Regions from separate parts of the Homo sapiens genome. Here region 2 is linked to region 1. The links are contacts of gene promoters, found by promoter capture Hi-C in blood cells and fetal thymus (Javierre and others, 2016). All regions are on one chromosome and are shown on one strand. Each heading gives the region's core, a stretch centred on a gene start or on the middle of the fragment in contact. The rest is flanking DNA. Distances are from core to core; before and after follow the strand shown.

Region 1 (4,531 bases), core at 399-2,898:
GGGGAACATCCTCCAGTTACAGCATGTACTACCTGCAGCCTGATAACCATCACTGGGGTGGATTTCCAGCCTCAGATGTTCAGGTGCTCTTTTTGGAAACACACACTTCTCACGTTACTGCACCAAATATGGGTCCCCAAATGACAGCCATAGCGCATGTCGGGGAGAGCTGCAGTGGGTCAAGTGATGCCTTTAACCAACTGAACGCAGTTTTCGGTCCCTGAAAACTATTTGCTTCCTTATCAATCAACCTGAAGGGAATGATGGAGGTGACACTGGGAGTCTTGGTAGGTTTCCAGACTTTCATAAGTTCGGGAGAAATTATTGACTTAGCATAGATGTGAGCTCAAAGAAACATTTCCTAACAGCAATAAAAATAAGCATTAGAGTTGAACAATGGACTGTGACTGTTTCCCAAAATAGCTGTTTTCTTGAGTCCGCAGAACAACAGGTACTGTATTAATGGGGATACAGTATTTGTTTCACAGCGTTGTTGTGAAGATAAACGGGATACCCCAGATAAACAGCTTGTGTCCCCCCCATCTTAACAACCCTCCTTTAGGCTGGCGGGCCACCTGCTCAAAAGCCTTCCCCAGGGGGGTTAAAACCGTCTTTTAGTAGTTCTGGTACGGGTGGGCTGGGGGAGATCCTCTAAAGCCAGTGCGACCTTGACCCCAGCCAATGTCCAGGCTCTTGACACATCCAGAGAATGAGTTCAAGGACAACTCAGAAAATAGTGACAATATGCAGATTTATTGCAAAGGGAAAAGTACACACCCAGGAAAAGGGATTGTGGAGAGGGTCACTCACAACGGGGCTTGGGGCTGCTACCTTTATGGGTTTCTTTAACCAAGGGGTGAAATATTCATGAAAATTCCTGGAAAAGTGTGGAGATTTTTCGGGACTGTGGTGCCACCCATTTTTACTTCAAATATGGGTGTCCCCGGAATTGTCATGGCACTGGTGTGACTTAGGATGTTAAAGAGCGTATAATGGAGGCCTAGGAGAAACCTAGGTCAAATCCAGGACCACGTCGGGTCCAGCCGGTCTTAGCCAGCTTGGTACACACCCTGGTTTTCAGGGTCTTATCAGCCCATAGCCTCCAGTCAAGTGAAACTGCTGCCTGGTATTTTTTATTCTCCTCTGACCAGCCTGCATTACTCCTGTCCCATGTTCAACACGAAATAGGGCCTCAGGAAATATTTACCAAATGAATGAATGGTTGCCTGTTCTAATTTTGTTTAACCACACTCTTGTCCTAAGCTTCTATGATGATACCCAGGGCCCCCGAGTTGTGCCAGTTCCACTACGGCGTGGATGCAAGGCGAGCGGCAGGGGAGCAGGTAAAGGATGAGTAAGGGAAGCCGGCGGATCCGACGCATTAGAGAACAAGAAAAAGAAATCCTTAGAGACTGGGGGCCAACAAAGAGCCAGGCGCGGGCGAACCCACCAGGGGGGCCCCGGAGCCCCACATCCGCCGCTGGGACGACCTCCCCGCCCAGCATGGTCCGGGGCGCGGACCCGGCCCCGCGCCAGGCGCCCCCGGCCCCGCACCCGGCGCCCTCCGCAGCTCCCGCCCCCGGGGCGGTGCCGGGAAAACGCGGCGCCTCCGCCGGTCACGTGGGGGCCGCTCCGGCGGGCGGCGCTGCCGCTTCCCAATCGCGCCCTCCCAGCGCCGGGGACGCGGCGCCCGCGCTCCCGCCCGAGCCCGGGGAAACGGAGACAAGGAGGCGCCGCCGCCCCCTCCCCGCGGCTGCGCCCCAGCCCTGCGCCCGCAGCATGCCCGCCGCCGGGCCGAGCGCCGCCCTCCCCCAGGAGCTCGAGGAGGCGACGCCGCTGCCGGCCGCGGGACCGCGGCTGCGAGGGTAGCGGGGCCGGAGCCGGGCCCCCCGAGGCGCCGCGCGGCGGGCGGAGAGGGAGGAGGAGCAGGCATCCTCCGCGGCGCGCGGGCGGCGGCCCTGCTGCCCGGCGCGCCCATGGCCCGGCCGCAGGGAGAATGCAAGCTGCTCTCCACGCGCTCGGCGTCCCCCGGAGCCGCTCGCGTCGCCGCCGCCCCCTAGCCGCCAGCGCTCGGCCGCTGGCTGCGCTAGGACCCGCGGCCGCCGGCCGCCGAGCGCGGGAGGGCAGGCAGGGGCAGGAGCCGGAGGGCCCGGGGCGCGGCGCGGCATGTAGCTGCGGGCTCCCGCGTCCGCGTGAGGCTGTCGGCCCGGGGCCCCGCCATGGCTGGGATGGACAGTGGCAACCTGAAGACCGCGAGGCTGTGGCGGGACGCCGCCCTGCGTGCCAGGAAGCTGCGGAGCAACCTGCGCCAGCTCACGCTTACCGCCGCCGGGGCCTGCCCCGGGGCCGGGGCCGACGCGCTCGAGTCCCCCGCCTCCCCCCAGCTCGTGCTGCCGGCCAACCTCGGGGACATTGAGGCACTGAACCTGGGGAACAACGGCCTGGAGGAGGTACCCGAGGGGCTGGGGTCGGCGCTGGGCAGCCTGCGCGTCCTGGTCCTGCGCAGGAACCGCTTCGCCCGGCTGCCCCCGGCGGTGGCCGAGCTCGGCCACCACCTCACCGAGCTGGACGTGAGCCACAACCGGCTGACCGCCCTGGGCGCGGAGGTGGTGAGTGCTCTGAGGGAGCTGCGGAAGCTCAACCTCAGCCACAACCAGCTGCCCGCCCTGCCCGCCCAGCTGGGCGCTCTCGCTCACCTGGAGGAGCTGGATGTCAGCTTTAACCGGCTGGCGCACCTGCCTGACTCCCTCTCCTGCCTCTCCCGCCTGCGCACCCTGGACGTGGATCACAACCAGCTCACTGCCTTCCCCCGGCAGCTGCTGCAGCTGGTGGCCCTGGAGGAGCTGGACGTGTCCAGCAACCGGCTGCGGGGCCTGCCTGAGGATATCAGTGCCCTGCGTGCCCTCAAGATCCTCTGGCTGAGTGGGGCCGAGCTTGGCACGCTGCCCGCCGGCTTCTGCGAGCTGGCCAGTTTGGAGAGCCTCATGCTAGACAACAACGGGCTGCAGGCTCTGCCCGCCCAGTTCAGCTGCCTGCAGCGGCTCAAAATGCTCAACCTCTCCTCCAACCTCTTCGAGGAGTTCCCTGCCGCGCTGCTGCCCCTGGCTGGTCTGGAGGAGCTCTACCTTAGTCGCAACCAGCTCACCTCGGTGCCATCCCTTATCTCGGGCCTGGGCCGGCTTCTCACCTTGTGGCTGGATAATAACCGCATCCGCTACCTGCCGGACTCCATCGTGGAGCTGACCGGCCTGGAGGAGCTCGTGCTGCAGGGGAACCAGATCGCGGTGCTGCCCGACCACTTTGGCCAGCTCTCCCGGGTGGGTTTGTGGAAGATCAAAGACAACCCACTGATCCAGCCCCCCTACGAGGTCTGCATGAAGGGGATCCCCTACATCGCAGCCTACCAGAAGGAACTGGCTCATTCCCAGCCGGCGGTGCAGCCCCGGCTCAAGCTGCTCCTGATGGGGCATAAGGCTGCAGGAAAGACTTTGCTGCGCCACTGCCTCACCGAGGAGAGAGTGGAGGGATGCCCAGGAGGAGGGGACAAGGAGAAGTGCTACCCACCGTCACCTCCCCCTGTGAGCAAGGGCATCGAGGTGACCAGCTGGACGGCCGATGCCTCCCGGGGCCTGCGGTTCATCGTGTATGACTTAGCTGGGGATGAAAGTTATGAGGTGATCCAGCCCTTCTTCCTGTCCCCAGGGGCCCTATACGTGCTGGTGGTCAACTTGGCCACCTATGAGCCTCGCCACTTTCCTACCACCGTGGGCTCCTTCTTGCATCGGGTCGGGGCGAGAGTGCCCCACGCGGTGGTGTGCATCGTGGGCACCCACGCAGACCTGTGCGGAGAGCGTGAGCTGGAGGAGAAATGTCTGGACATTCACCGCCAGATCGCCCTGCAGGAGAAGCACGACGCGGAGGGACTGAGCCGCTTGGCCAAGGTGGTGGACGAGGCACTGGCCCGGGACTTCGAGCTGCGCTCTGCCAGCCCCCACGCAGCCTACTATGGCGTTTCGGACAAGAACCTTCGACGGCGCAAGGCCCATTTTCAATACCTGCTCAACCACCGGCTGCAGATCCTCTCCCCCGTGTTGCCTGTTAGCTGCAGGGACCCGCGCCACTTACGACGCCTTCGGGACAAGTTGCTGTCAGTTGCTGAGCACCGAGAGATCTTCCCCAACTTACACAGAGTACTGCCTCGATCCTGGCAGGTGCTGGAGGAACTGCATTTCCAGCCACCTCAGGCCCAGCGACTGTGGCTAAGCTGGTGGGACTCGGCGCGCTTGGGCCTGCAGGCGGGTCTGACCGAGGACCGACTGCAGAGTGCCCTCTCCTACCTGCATGAGAGCGGCAAGCTACTCTACTTTGAGGACAGTCCGGCTCTCAAGGAGCACGTCTTCCACAACCTCACCCGCCTCATCGACATCCTCAATGTCTTCTTCCAGAGGGATCCCTCTTTGCTGCTGCATAAGCTGCTCCTAGGGACCAGTGGAGAGGGCAAGGCGGAGGGGGAAAGCTCCCCGCCCATGGC
Region 2 (5,143 bases), core at 172-2,671, 520 kb after region 1:
GACATAACAACTCATTTCATCCTCAGAACAGCCCTAAGAGGTAGGAATTGCCAGCCCCAATTTACAGATGACAAAGCAGAGATAGAAAGCTAGGGTAACCAGCCTAAGGTTCCTGCTGTACCTGCAAGACTCCTAAGTCTACGCTCCTCCTGAACCTACAGGACATCAAGGAGCATGGAAATTGAGCAGGGCGTGAGAGTAAAACATCCAAATTGTATCTGCCTGCCTCAGTCCTGGGTAAATTAGTGGAAAGCACAGGTATTGGCATTAGAAAACCAAGTTCCTATTCCCTCTCTCTCACAAATGGAGTGACCTTGTATAAGCCACTCACTGTGACTGAGTCTCCAGTCCCTTCTCTAAAAGAGTTGGTCTCTAAACTGAGAGTCTGGAGTCTCTTCTCTAAAATGAGATGATAATAGTACTTTGATAACACCCTGCTATTGTAAACCTCTAATGAGACAAACAATGGAATCCAATGCAGAGGTTAGTGATGATGTAGGCAGAAGCCACCCAGGCTGCTGATTGTGCAATGACACCCACACCCTATGGGAACTAGCATGGCTCAATCCCAGGAACGCCACTCTGAGCCTTGGAGAAGTAACTAAAATTTACTCCTTTAAGAATCTCGGGGCTTGGAGAAATCCCAGTAACCATAGCAACATGACTCAGGTAGGGTTTTAATTAGCATCTGGGTTGAGATCAGAGTTTTTTCGGCCCAGTTTGTTATGATAAAACCCTTAGATTGCATATAGCTCAAGCTTGATGGGAATCTTGGAGGTTCAAGGTTTCAGCTCTTAAAAAATAAACAAGTTAGAGGAGAAAAAAGAATTAAAAAGAAGGGCCGGACTTAGTGGCTCATGCCTGTAATCATAGCACTTTGGGAGGCCAAGGCAGGCAGACTGCTTGAGCCCAGGACTTTGAGACCAACCTGGGCAACATGGTGAAACCCAGTCTCCACCAAAAAAGATATGAAAATCAGCCAGGGATGGTGGCACATGCCTGTCATCCCAGCTTCTCTGGGGGCTGAGGTGGGAGGATGGCTTGAGCCCAGAAAGTGGAGGTTGCAGTGAGCTATGATTGTGCCACTGTACTCCTGCCTGAGCAACAGAGCAAGACCCTGTCTCAAAAAAAAAAAAATCTAGAAAATAAAATTAGCTTAAGAGAACACAGAAAAACAAGAGCATCTTATTTTATTCAAAATAAACTAGAATATATTTTCATTTGGGGAAGCATTTTCATTTCTCAAGCATTACTGACATTATCTTTCGGATCTCCCTGTGAGAAGATAAGAGGGCAGGCCTGGGAACATATGCTGACTTTTAATTCTGGAACTCAGTACCTCCGCTGGGGATAGTGCCAGGAACCCCAGAGTCTTCCAACCTAGTAGGTCAGGGTGTTGGCAAATCAGAGTGTTAGTGAGAATGCAGCCAGCAGTTGATCCGGCACCAATTCCAGTACACACTGGTAATTATGGCAGGCTGATGTCAGTTTTCCAAAATGGAAGAACGTGAAAGGTCTTCAAGCAACATACAAGGTCAACCTGATTTCTTCACATGGGCCCATTTGTGAAATAGATCCTATTTCTAATGATCAGCTTCATTATGTGCGTTACCTACGCTCACACCTCTAGAAAAAGGACTTGCTTCATACAGGACACTGTTTCTTTCCACTTACATGGTGTGAGAGAGACAGATCGTCTGCTTCCTTAGGTCATTATGGAAGAACGGGGAATGATTTTCTCTTTTGCCTGTTGTTCTGTTTATCGCCCTATTTTACAAAACTGATTCTGACCTGGAGGGAAAAAAATAGATGTTAAGAATGACTTGGCTTTCCTGTGGTCCTGTTTTGAATGTTTGGCAGTAGCTTATCTGTCTTTTTGAGATATTGTCCTCTGTAAACTCCCATTCGTGTTCCTGAGAAACCTCTTGCTGGAGTGCCCTGCAGGAGAAAGGCTCTCCATGCTCATTTTATGCCCAGAACAGTTCTTCTTTGGAGGAGGTTAAGTGCCTGCCCAACCCTCCAACCCAGGCGGGTACGGCAAGGCCTGGATACTTCCTTCCCTGTTGCCGTCAAGGCAAGCTTTTATACCCACAAAGTCACACTTACTAAGAATGATGGATCTCACAGAGTCTCTGGGTCACCCCTGTCCCAATATAAGGCAGAATTATAAGATGAGGATCAACAAATACTGCTGGTTAGGAAACAAAAATACTTCAGGAAAGAAGGGTGAACTCATAGTTTAAATGTCATGCTTAAGACTTAATGGCAATTTGGCCAGGCATGGTGGCTGACACCTATAATCCCAGCACTTAGGGAGGCCAAGGCGGGTGGATCACTTGGGGTAAGGAGTTCAAGACCAGCCTGGCCAACATTAACGAGAACAGCAGAGCTGGGGAAACAATTAAGATGAGAAAGAACCAAATTGCTTTCTGCCTTTTGCTTTTTCACAGATGCAAACCCGGTTTTAAATGACTTAATGACTTTTGGGTGACTAGGTCAGCTGAAAGAGAATCATCTGGTTAGTGCAGATAAGCGTTTCACCAAGAAACCTCAAGTTAGGAGAAGAGGCCTGAGCCCAGGTGGAATTGAGGATGACAGGTGACTAAGAAATAAGACCGATTCATGTGGTTTCAGTGTCTAAATGGTCTGGCCCTAGGTGAGACTAATCAAAAGAAAAATTTCCCCAAGAAAGTGGGTGACGTCTTTGTTTTTTGTGTGTTTCGTTTTGAGACAGAATCTCACTCTGCCGCCCAGGCTGGAGTGCAGTGGTGCCATCTCACTGCAGCCTCCACTTGTCAGACTCAGGTGATCCTCTCACCCCAGCCTCCTGAGTAGCTGGGACTACAGGCACGTGCCACCATGCCCCCGCTAATTTTTATATTTTTGTAGAGACGGAGTTTCACCATGTTTCCCAGGCTGGTCTCGAACTCCTGGGCTCAAATGATCCACCTGCCTCAGCCTCCCAAAGTGTTGGGATTGCAGGCATGAGCCACCACGCCCAGCTGATGTCTTTGTTTGAAAGTTATCACTCATGGTCGGGCGCGGTGGCTCACACCTGTAATCCTAGCACTTTGGTAGGCCAAGGCGGGTGGATCACGAGGTCAGGAGATCGAGACCATCCTGGCTAACACGGTGAAACCCCTCTCTACTAAAAATACAAAAAATTAGCCAGGCGTGATGGCGGGCGCCAGTAGTCCCAGCTACTCGGGAGGCTGAGGCAGGAGAATGACGTGAACCCGGGAGGCGGAGCTTGCAGGGAGCCGAGATCGCACCACTGAGCTCCAGCCTGGGCGACAGAGCGAGACTCCACCTCAAAAAAAAAAGAAAGTTTTCGCTCAATTGAATTTCAATTTTAACCCACAACTTGCTAAATTCACCCCTTTTTCTGTGGGGCTGCTGGGGAGCAGAGGTTAAATCTATTCTTGGGCTTTTGCTCACTCTTTTTTTTTTTTTTTTTTTTGAGACAGAATCTCTGTCGCTCAGGCTGGAGTACAGTGGTGGTACCTTGCCTTACTGCAACCTCCGCCTCCCGGGTTCAAGCGATTTTCCTGCCTCAGCCTCCCAAGTAACTGGGATTACAGGTGCGCCACCACGCATGGCTAATTTTTATATTTTAGTAGAGATGGGGTTTCACCGTGTTGCTCAGGCTGATCTCGAACTCCTTACTTCAAGTAATCCACCTGCCAAAGTGTTGGGATTACAGGTGTGAGCTACAGCCCCCGGTCTTTTGCTCACTCTTAATTCTCCTCCTGAGCTGCTTCTCAGTAGACAGGTAGTGACAGTGTCATGAGTGGAGTTCGTTTCTGTCCACAGAAGTGGCCACATCAGTAACCAGAGGAACTGACATGACTTCACTGTGTGGGCTCTCCTGTAACATGATCTCTGGGCATGAACCGGGAGGATGGGCATAGGATGAGTGAGATGGGTGTTTGTCTCCAGTGTCCACATCGAATCTGATTAGAGCTTCCAATGTGTTCTTCTAGAGGCCCTTTCTGCTATAATGGATGACAGACAGTTGGGTGGCAACATTTTACTAGGAAATCCCATACTCTTGATGCATAACGGCCTTTTCTGGGCGGCATTTTGAAAATCACAGTTTGTATTAGGAAGCACTGTATTTAGAGAATCTTCATGGACTGTGTTTAGCCATTTTGACAAAACTTAAATAAGTAGGCTGGAGGTCAAGTTGGTCAGGGGAGAATGAATACTGGCCGTATTTCAGTGGCCCCCACAGATACACAGAGTTTGGCAAACAGAACAAAGCATATGTACCAACAATGCATGTTTATATTCTGTGCCATGCCAGGGGCAAATTCATAGTTGGCCTGTTTCCATAAGTGTGGGGATGGAACCTTGAAACACAGGACATCTCATAATGCTGTAAGCAGGGACCATTGAAATTGATTCCTAGAGTCTTGTTCTACAACTTCTTTAAAAATTACTGATTTGACAGCAGTATGTATTCAACATTTAAGACTTTCTGTCTAATTTTGAGCATACATTCTTGACTAAGGCTAGCAATTAGAGATTCTTTCTTTAATTTATCAGATATCTATTAATTGTCTACTTTTGAGTGGGCTCTGTGCAAGGCGCTAAAAAGCCAGTTACTGGGGTTCTGTTCCTTAAGGATCCTGAGAATTGAGTTGCTAAGAATTAAATCAGCAGGCGTGCAATATGACTGTCAAAGCTTGACCCCTGCTTTGATTCCCTTTGTTGAGACAGGTTCTTATAGGACCTGGATTCTCACCACATCCTCTGTTCTGTTTAGGGAACACAAAGGTAAGCTCAGCTCTGTGTCCAGGAGTACCTTATAGTCCTCTCCCTTAACTGTGTCTGTTTCAACTTGATCCAAGATCAGGATTAGTACAAGCTTGTAAAAAAAAAAAAAAAAAAGTTTATTTTTTACAAAATAGACCAGATGCACTTTGAAGGTAAAGTGCATGCTTAACCATCTGCAATTCCTAAGGTTGAGCTCAATGCATCACATGTAGTAGATGTTCAAGAAATGTTTGTTAAATGGGCAGTTGTAAACAGAGACAGTGCCGTGTTTATTTCGTTTTCCAGAAAGGCACCTGACTCCTTGCTTTGCACATAACAGGTGCTCAAGAAATGTTGAAGAAAAAAGCAAATTGCTTTGAATGCA

Evidence for each region. Contacts are between HindIII fragments. The CHiCAGO score rates a contact against its expected background, and 5 or more counts as called.
Region 2: a fragment that was not itself captured here is called in contact with the fragment with the promoter of MFHAS1 in region 1 in 1 of 17 cell types (activated CD4 T cells); the score reaches 5.7 in activated CD4 T cells.

What each region holds. Positions count from the first base shown.
Region 1 is chr8:8,890,747-8,895,277 of GRCh38, reverse strand. MFHAS1 (multifunctional ROCO family signaling regulator 1) reads left to right here and starts at 1,648. Exons shown (of 3, transcript NM_004225.3): 1 at 1,648-4,531. The coding sequence starts at 2,220. RefSeq lists silencers at 1,503-1,752, 1,763-2,042, 2,153-2,422 and enhancers at 2,267-3,227, 3,228-4,187, 4,188-4,531. The HindIII fragment of the contact is 4,068 bases long and covers 1,266-4,531 here.
Region 2 is chr8:8,369,449-8,374,591 of GRCh38, reverse strand. All of the region lies in intron 3 of PRAG1 (PEAK1 related, kinase-activating pseudokinase 1), which reads left to right. Among named protein-coding and RNA genes, the nearest start is that of PRAG1, 14 kb to the left of the region's middle. RefSeq lists a silencer at 3,234-3,333. The HindIII fragment of the contact is 1,321 bases long and covers 761-2,081 here.